2 separate regions of the Homo sapiens genome follow, and region 1 is linked to region 2. Evidence: promoter capture Hi-C in 16 types of primary human blood cells and fetal thymus (Javierre and others, 2016). All regions are on one chromosome and are shown on one strand. The core of a region is centred on a gene start or on the middle of the fragment in contact, and the rest is flanking DNA. Distances in the headings are between cores, read along the strand shown. Region 1 overlaps TBCD (tubulin folding cofactor D). Region 2 holds the start of METRNL (meteorin like, glial cell differentiation regulator).

Region 1 (3,915 bases), core at 184-2,683, 260 kb after region 2:
GTTAAGTGCTGGGAAGCAAGTGTGAGCCACTGTGCTCAGTCTTAGACAAAAATATGCTCACAGATCTCAAGAAAACTGTGGACAAAGAACTAAAGGAGACCAAAAGAACAACATTTAAACTAACATGGAATGTTGATAAAGAGACAGAAATTATAAAAACAGGCTGGGCACAGCAGCTCACTCCTATAATCCCAAGGCAGGCCAAGGCAGGAAGATCACTTGAGTCCAAGAATTTGAAAGCAGTCTGGACAATAAAGTGAGATCCTGTTTCTACAATTTTTTTTTCCAGTGCAGCAGGCCTGTGGTCTCAGCTACTCAGGAGGCTGAGGCGGGAGAGCTGCTTGGGCCTGGGAGGTTGAGGCTGCAGTAAGCCGTGATACCACCACTGCACTCCAGCCTGGGCGACAGAGCAAGACCCTGTCTCAAAAAGAAATTATTAAAAGAGAAACTAAAGAGAAATTCTGGAACTGAGGACTCAACAGCTGAAATGAGTGCAGAACCTAAGAGACTCATAGGGCACCATCAAGCTTACCAACATGTATATTAACACAACAAGAGGACTCAACAGCTGAAATGAGCACAGAACCTAAGAGACTCATAGGGCACCATCAAGCTTACCAACATGTGTATTAACATAACAAGAGGACTCAAGAGCTGAAATGAGGGCAGAACCTAAGAAACTCATAGGGCACCATCAAGCGTACCAACATGTGTATTAACATAACAAGAAGACTCAAGAGCTGAAATGAGTGCAAAACCTAAGAGACTCATAGGGTACCACCAAGAGTACCAACATGTGTATTAACATAACAAGAGTCCCACAAGGAGAGGAGAGGGGCAGCAAAAATACCTGAAGAAACAATGACTGAAAACTACCCGAGTTTGATGAAAGACATGAATCTACACATCCAAGCTCAGAAAAACACCAAGTGCTAGTTATTATTACCCAAATCAATATGCACAATTCTCAATCAATAAGGATAGCAAGGGAAATAGGGTTCATACAAAATGTCCAAAGAGATCAGAACACTTGACATTTTTCAAAAAGCAAAATACTGATGAAAACCACAAAATGCATAATAAGGAGCACATGTATACATTTTATCAAAATAGTACAGTTGGCTGGGCGCAGTGCCTCACGCCTGTAATCCCAGCACTTTGGGAAGCCAAGGCAGGCAGATCACTTGAGGTCAGGAGTTCGAGACCAGCCTGGCCAACATGGAGAAATCTGGTCTCTACTAAAAATAAAAAAATTGGCTGGGCATGGTGGCGGGCGCCTGACTCCCAGCTACTCGGGAGGCTGAGTCATGAGAATCACTTGAACCTGGGAGATGGAGCTGGCAGTGAGCCAAGAGGGCGCCACTGCACTCCAGCCTGGGCAACAGAGCAAGACTCTGTCTCAAAAAAAGAAAAAAAAAAAAAAGGTAAACTTAAACCAATACATCCCCCCACCTGTGCTTCTTGTATCCAACAAAGGAAACCGTAAGGGTTCACAAACATTGTAGGAGCTTACTCATGGTGAGGAGTGCCCACCTCCTCCTGCCACAACAACAGAGGTGTTCAAAGAGGAGCCACAAAAAAGGTGAAAGGACCTACGCCAGGACCACTCAAGAAAAGTCCTGGAATTTGAATCACCTAAAATAAAGACCAAGTAGCCCTTTAACAGTAGTCCTCAAACAGAGGTGATGATGCAAAGAGAAAAAGAACATGGCCCACTGTCCACAGGCCGAGGCAGGAGGATCGCGTGAGTGCAGCACTGCGATCATGGCTCACTGCAGCCTCAACCTCCTGGACTCAAGCAATTCTCCCACCTCAACCTCCTGAGTAGCTGGGACTGCACCCAACTACCTTTTTAAAACAATTTTTGTAGAAACAGGATCTCATTTTGTTGCGCAGGCTACTTTCGAATTTCTTTAAAAAATTAGCTGGGCGTGGTGGTGTGCACAGAGTCAGAGACCAAGAAATAGGCTTACAGCACAACAGATGGAGATTCTGTGTGTGTGTGCACTGTATGTGTGGAGAGGAATCAGCAGGATTCCCTAAAAAGTAACCCAAAGAAAATGCGATGCTTTTTTCCTGAGTCCAGCAGGCAGAGTCCCCCTATTCAGAGGACTAAGGGCAGAAAGACCCAGGGTGCCTTCCAGGCAAACATCGCATCACTGCCTGCCCACCTGACTTCCCTAGTTTTACTTCTTCCTCCTTTAGCATGCACCAATGAAGCTCCACATTTCCTCTAAGACAAACAAAAGCTTTAGTCATCAAACATGCTCATCTATATTGTGTCTTTCTACGACATTTATTTGCCAAGCATTTGTTTTCGCGCTTTTTTTTCTTTTTTTTGAGACAGGATCTTGCTCTGTCACCCAGGCTGGAGTGCAGTGGTGCGATCTCGGTTCACTGCAACCTCTGCCTCCTGGGTTCACGCGATTCTTCTGCCTCAGCCTCCCGAGTAGCTGGGATTACAGACATGCACCACCACATCCTTGTATTTTTAGCAGAGACGGGGTTTCACCATGTTGGCCAGGCTGGTCTCGAACTCCTGGCCTCAGGTGATCCCCCCGCCTTGGCCTCCCAAAGTGCTGGGATTATAGGCATGAGCCGCCGTGCCCAGCCTGTTTTCACTTTTCAAACCAAACTGACAGAGAACCACAGTAACTCTCCAAGGAGACAAGGAGGTGCAGGGACAGCTCAGCCGTGTGACATGGAGGAGGCCGAAGGGCTGAGCATGAGCTGTGACACCAGAAAGACTTCCTGGCTCCCACAGCTGCAGTGTTTGTGTGTGTGTGTTTGTTTGTTCAGAGAGGGTGTCTCACTATGATGTCCAGGCTGGTATCAAATTCCTAGGCTCAAGTGATCCTCCTGCCTTGGCCTCCCAAGAGGCTAGGATTAAAGGCACCGCCACCACACGTGGCTCCCAACTATAGCTTTATATAAACAAGACGGCTCTCAGAGGAATGGTGTGAGGTCTAAAACAAAAACATAAAAAGCATGCTGCAAATGCTCATCAAATGTCAGCCCTGTCACCTCCTGAGTCAGCCCCAAGATGGGATCTCTTTCACCCCTGCCTGAAAGAACCCTTGCCCTGTGCAGAGACAGCACAGCTTCTCCATGTCCCACCAGGAACAGAATGGGGGCTGCAAAGAGGGTTCAGCTCACATGGAGGGCACCGCCAGGCAGAAGGGGCCAACCAACCATGCGAAGGTCATGGGCCAGTGTATTCCACATCACGTGTCAGTTTCTGAACCATAGCTTTACCCTTTTCGTTTATGATGCCAACACCCATATCCTCTCGCCCCAGCTGCCTGGGGTCAGTGCATGTTGCCATAAGACATGACAGAGCACACACACAAGCCAGTAGAGTCTCTTGTCTCCTTTGAGTGAACCTGGAGCTGGCTCCCCACAGGCAGGGACTTCATTCCATCCCAGCTACACATTCACACACACACCCTCACACACATCTAGTGTCACAAATAAACATTACGAGTCACTTACTTCGGATGGAACAAAACGTTAAATGAAACCACAACTTCATGGTTCTGGGGTCAGCAATGATTTCTTAGCTATGACACCAGAAACACAAGAAAGAAAAAGACTGATGAGCTGGACTTAATTAAAATTTAAAACCTGGGTCAAATATCACCATCAAAGAAATTGAAAACACACCAGGTACAGCCTACAATCCCAGCACTTTGGGAGGCTGAGGCAGGAGGATCACTGGAGGCCAGAAGTTCAAGACGAGCCTGGGCCACATAGTGAGACCCCCATCTCTACAAAAAACTTTTTTAATTAGCCAGGCATGAAGGCCAGGTGCAGTAGCTCACGCCTATAATCCTAGCACTTTGGGAGGCTGAAGCGGGGGGATCGCTTGAGCTCAGGAGTTCGAGACCAGCCCGGACAACATGGGAAAACCCCATC
Region 2 (4,369 bases), core at 6-2,505:
GGGGGCCGCGCCGAGGGGAAGCGGGACCCAGGCCCGGGCCAGCCCGGCCACGGCTCTCCGGGAGGCGCGCGTCACTCGGGTCCCCGCGCATCTGCGAACCCCGGAACTGGCGACTGCGAGGCTCGCGCAGGGCGGGTTCGGCCGCGGTGCCCTCGGCGCCCTGGGCTTCGCGTGGGAGCGGCGGCGGCTCCCGAGGGGCAGTCGCGGTCGGCGCCGCTCTCGGCGGCCACGCTTGAGTCAAAAAAAAAAAAAAAAAAAAAAAGTCCTCGGCCGCCACCGCGGGTGGGGGGGGGGGGGGTCGCCCAGCGCAGCGCGCGCCGCGGCCAAGGGCGGCCTGACCTTCACGGGGCAGGGGCGGGGGGCCCGGCCGGAGCCACACTCGGCCCGGCTCACAGGTGCCCGCCCGCGGCTCCCCGAGACGGAAGTGGCCCCCGCTGCGGTCCGCGCCCGATCCCCGAAACCGCCGCTCCCTCCCGCGGCCGTCCCTTCCCGCTCTGGCCCGGGGCGGCCTCGGGGCGCGCAACTCCCGGAGCCTGCCAGGAAGGGCCCGAGGACCGACCCCCGCCTGCCCCCGGGATGGGGTCGCGGGACCGGCGGCCCCCGAGGCTCGGACACGCGCGGAGCCGGGACCCACCCGGCCGCGCTGCAGGCGCGCCTCCCCCGGGCGTCCTCCGGGCCGGGAACCGGGACGCCGCGGGCTCTTTTGTTCTAGAACCGGGGGCGGGGGACAGCGGGCACCGGACTGGGCCTGGAGAGCGGCCCCCGGAGCCCCTGCCCCGCGCCCGCCCCCGGCCGCGCCCCCGCACGCTCGGCCGGCCCGGGACGGGAGGGGACGCGAGGGGAGGGGGCCGGGCCGGGGTCGCGCCGCGCACACTCACCTCCCCTTCCAGCTGCACCGGTCGCTGGAGTACTGCGCGCCCGCGCCGCCCAGCAGCCCGGCCAGGAGCAGGAGCAGCAGCGGGAGCGGCGGCGGGGGCGGGCCCGGGGCGGGGGGTCGCGGCCACGGCTGCCCCGCGCGCCCCCAGGCCGCCCGCGCCGCGCCCCGCATGCTCTGGCGCCGGCTCCGCCGCCCGGCCCCGCGTCCGCGACCCCCGGAGCAGACCCCGGAGCCGGCGAGCCGGGCGGGGGCGGGGCGGGCTTCGAGTCCGGGTGGTCACGTCGCGCGCCCCCCGCGTCCTCCGCGCGGCCGCCCGCCCATCCCGGCCCGCTGGAGCCGCGCGCAGAGCTCCGCGCCCGCCGCCGCCGCCGAGCCTCTGAAGTTGGCGAGTCCGAGTCCGCCCGGCCGGGCTCAGCTGGGGGGTGGGGCCCACCCGCCGCCCCGCCCCGCCCCCGACCCCGCCCCCGACCCCGCCCCGCGCCGGAAACTCCTCCCGGGGCGCCCGGCCGGACGCGCAGACACCGAGTCAGCAGCGAATCGGGGGCGCGGGCGCCGGGGCGGGGGGCGCTGCAGGAGGAGGGGGCCGCGCCGGGCGGCGAGCGGGGTCCGGAGGGAAGAGCCCGGCCTGGAAAGCGGAGTCCGGGGCCGGAGGGGTTGCAAGGCGAGGGCGGGGCGGAAACCCGAGACCCCCAAGTAGTGGCCGACGCGAGCCGCGGTCGCCCCCCGCAGACCCCCGCGAGGCGGTGCCGGGGCCGCATCCTGCGCCCCATCCTGCGCCCCATCCTGCGGGCAGCCCCGGCGCGGAGCGGTAAAGGAGGCTCCCGGCCCCGCCGGTTCTGGGTCCCCCGCGCCTCGCCAGCGGGCGGTGATCAGGGGCGATCCGGGCGCCCCGCGTTCCGCAGAGTTGGTGCCTCGGGAGTTCCCGGCTCCCTCCTGACCGGGGGGGAGGCCCGGCGGTGAGCCCGGCTTCCCTCCCTCCTCCCGGAGGACGTGCAGCCGCCGCGCCGGGGCCTCTGCCGAGCGCTGCCCACTCCTCGCTCCGGATACGCGGGGCCGGGTGGTTCTTGGGGTGGGGACGTCCTGCGCATGGTGGGATGTTGGCAGCACCCTGGCCCCCGCACTCTGGGTATCAGTAGCAACCCCCGCCCCAGCTTTGACAACCTAAACTCTCTGCAGATTTGGCCAAATCCCGCCCCCACCCCGTGCCCGCGGGGCAGAATCACCTGCGGAGCGTCCTGCTCGAGTGTGTTCCTCGGAGTCGGCGCCTTCCCCAGGTGGTCACCGCGGCCACCACGTGCCTGACCCAGTGGGGGGGACAGCGGAGACCCCCGCCCGGACTGGGGAGGCCCTAGAGACTCAGGCCAGAGAAGGGGAGCCAGAGGGTGCCGAGGGCCCCCCAGGCAGGAGAGGGCGGAGCTGGCCCGCCCGGCGGTCCCCGCTGCGATGGCAAAGCTGGCTTCTGTGTGCTGCGGGTCAGTGGCCCTGCCCGAGACGCCTGGTGTCAGTTCCAGAGCCGAGCGCAGCATCCAGCGGTGGGGAAGCTTGGCCTTGTCCCCTTTTCCAGCCAAGATACCTTCCAGGAGGACTTGCGAACGACCTGTGCAAGTCTGAATAACTGGGTTGTGACTACCAGAGGAGGCGGGGAGAGGGCTTTGAAAATTGTGAGTCTGCAGGGACGGAAGTCACCGGCAAAGGCAGGTGGAGCCCAGCCCCCAGCCCAGGAAAGCTGGGACAAGGGTGAGGGTCTGAAGAACTGGAAGGCGATGACAGTGACCACTGAAGGTAGTTTCATTGTAAGGATCTGTTCAGAGCACCCACCCCATCGAAAGCCTGGAGCCAGGACCTTGCCCAGCACATCAAGTGACATCACCCTGAGGCTCAAGGTCTGGTGGAGGTGCATTTCGGAGCTTGGAGACTGCCCCACCCACCCCCGTCTGCTCTAGGAGTGCACCTCCCCCCACCCCCATCACTGCAGGTACCAGGGTGCCCAGTGGAAAGGGACCTGCTGTGGAAAGGGACCTGCTGTGGAAAGGGACCTGCGGCTTCACACCTGTGCGCAGCAACTGCTTTCCATGCCCACCAAGCATAAGATAGCAGCCCCCCCAGGCCCGGTCCACCCTTGAAGGGCCACATGGCCTATCAGGGTCCAGATCATCACACCACGGAAGAGGCAGGGCAGTGCTGGGATCTCTTGAGTTATAGATGCGGACATGGGGAACTCAGGACCTGCCGTGACCTGCTCAGGGTCTCAGAGCCCCTGGTGGCTGCTAGACCGAAGGGGAGAGGCCGCCTCTGGTCAGCAGGCAGCTGGTTCCAGCCTAGGCTGGGGCAGAGATCTGCCACCTGGCAGGATGCCCAGCCTCCTGTGCCCAGCGGGCTGTCCTAAGACTGGGATCGTACGATGGTGAGTATGGGACCCACGTGTACTTTTCAAAACCCGTAGAAAATACAGCACAAGAGTGAATCCTGATGGAGGCTTGAGACATTTGTAATAATAACGGATCAATATTGGTTCTTTGACTGTCACACGCCTACACCCTAATGAGAGAAGGTAATCATAAGAGAAACTGGGTCAGGGAGAGGGTGTGTGGGGGACCTCTACCATCTGCTTGGTGTTTCTGTAAACCTAAAACATTAAGTCTGCTAATTAAAACAAAACAAAACTAGAGTAAGAATGCTTGCTGGCCAGTATTCTCGGAAGAAGCTAATCTGTCTTGGGAAAGGAGCCTGGCCCTTTCCACCCTGGGGCTGTGGTTCCCCAAGCTGTTCCCTTGAGGAGGTTCATGCCCCAGAGACATTGGGTGCTCCTGGGCACCTCTGCTGACCCCTGTCCTGGCCCAGCGAGGCCACCTACAGGTGAGACGTCCCCTGTAGACGGGGTTCCTGGTGTCAGGAGGTATCAGGCTCCTAGAGGATGCAGGCTGAGGTGGTCAAGGCTGTCTGGGGGTGTTCCCAGCCACTGGTACACTGCCCCTTGTACCACCAGACCCCGAGAGGCCGATTATGAACCAAAAGGATCCCAGCTGGTCATGGTGTGTGGCCCTCCCCCTGGTCCTCTGGGAGGGTCTGCAAGGAAAGGGCCTTGGGTGTGTTTGTCCCTGGATGTCTGGGAAGGGACTGCTTCCCAGTGAGCATGTCACGGGGTTAGACCCAGGAAGGGGCCACAGCATCATCCCACCCACCCACTCGTGGGAAGGAGCTGGTCTTCGCAGCTTTGCGTGAAGCTCTGATACTTCCTACCTGAGTCGGAACGTTGAGGCTGAGCCGTGGAATCGGAGAGCTCCAGAACCCACCAGGATCACGCCTGCCCATTCCCTCTACCGGCGGGCCCTGCAGTGATGCTTCTGCATCCTGGGAGATGGCAGCTAAGGGACCTGGGCCAGGGGGGCCTGTGGCCCAACCGTAGGTCTACATCAACCCTCTCTCTTTCCTCATCTATCCATTCCCTCGAGAAACAGCTCTCAGAAGCCTCCTGGGCAGACGTCCGTGAAA

Evidence for each region. Contacts are between HindIII fragments. The CHiCAGO score rates a contact against its expected background, and 5 or more counts as called.
Region 1: a fragment that was not itself captured here is called in contact with the fragment with the promoter of METRNL in region 2 in 1 of 17 cell types (total B cells); the score reaches 6.5 in total B cells.

The regions. Positions count from the first base shown.
Region 1 is chr17:82,817,483-82,821,397 of GRCh38, reverse strand. The region is part of intron 13 of TBCD (tubulin folding cofactor D); the gene reads right to left. Among named protein-coding and RNA genes, the nearest start is that of ZNF750, 21 kb to the left of the region's middle. The HindIII fragment of the contact is 1,636 bases long and covers 616-2,251 here.
Region 2 is chr17:83,076,495-83,080,863 of GRCh38, reverse strand. METRNL (meteorin like, glial cell differentiation regulator) reads right to left here and starts at 1,255. Exons shown (of 4, transcript NM_001004431.3): 1 at 879-1,255. The coding sequence starts at 1,048. The HindIII fragment of the contact is 18,805 bases long and covers 1-2,420 here.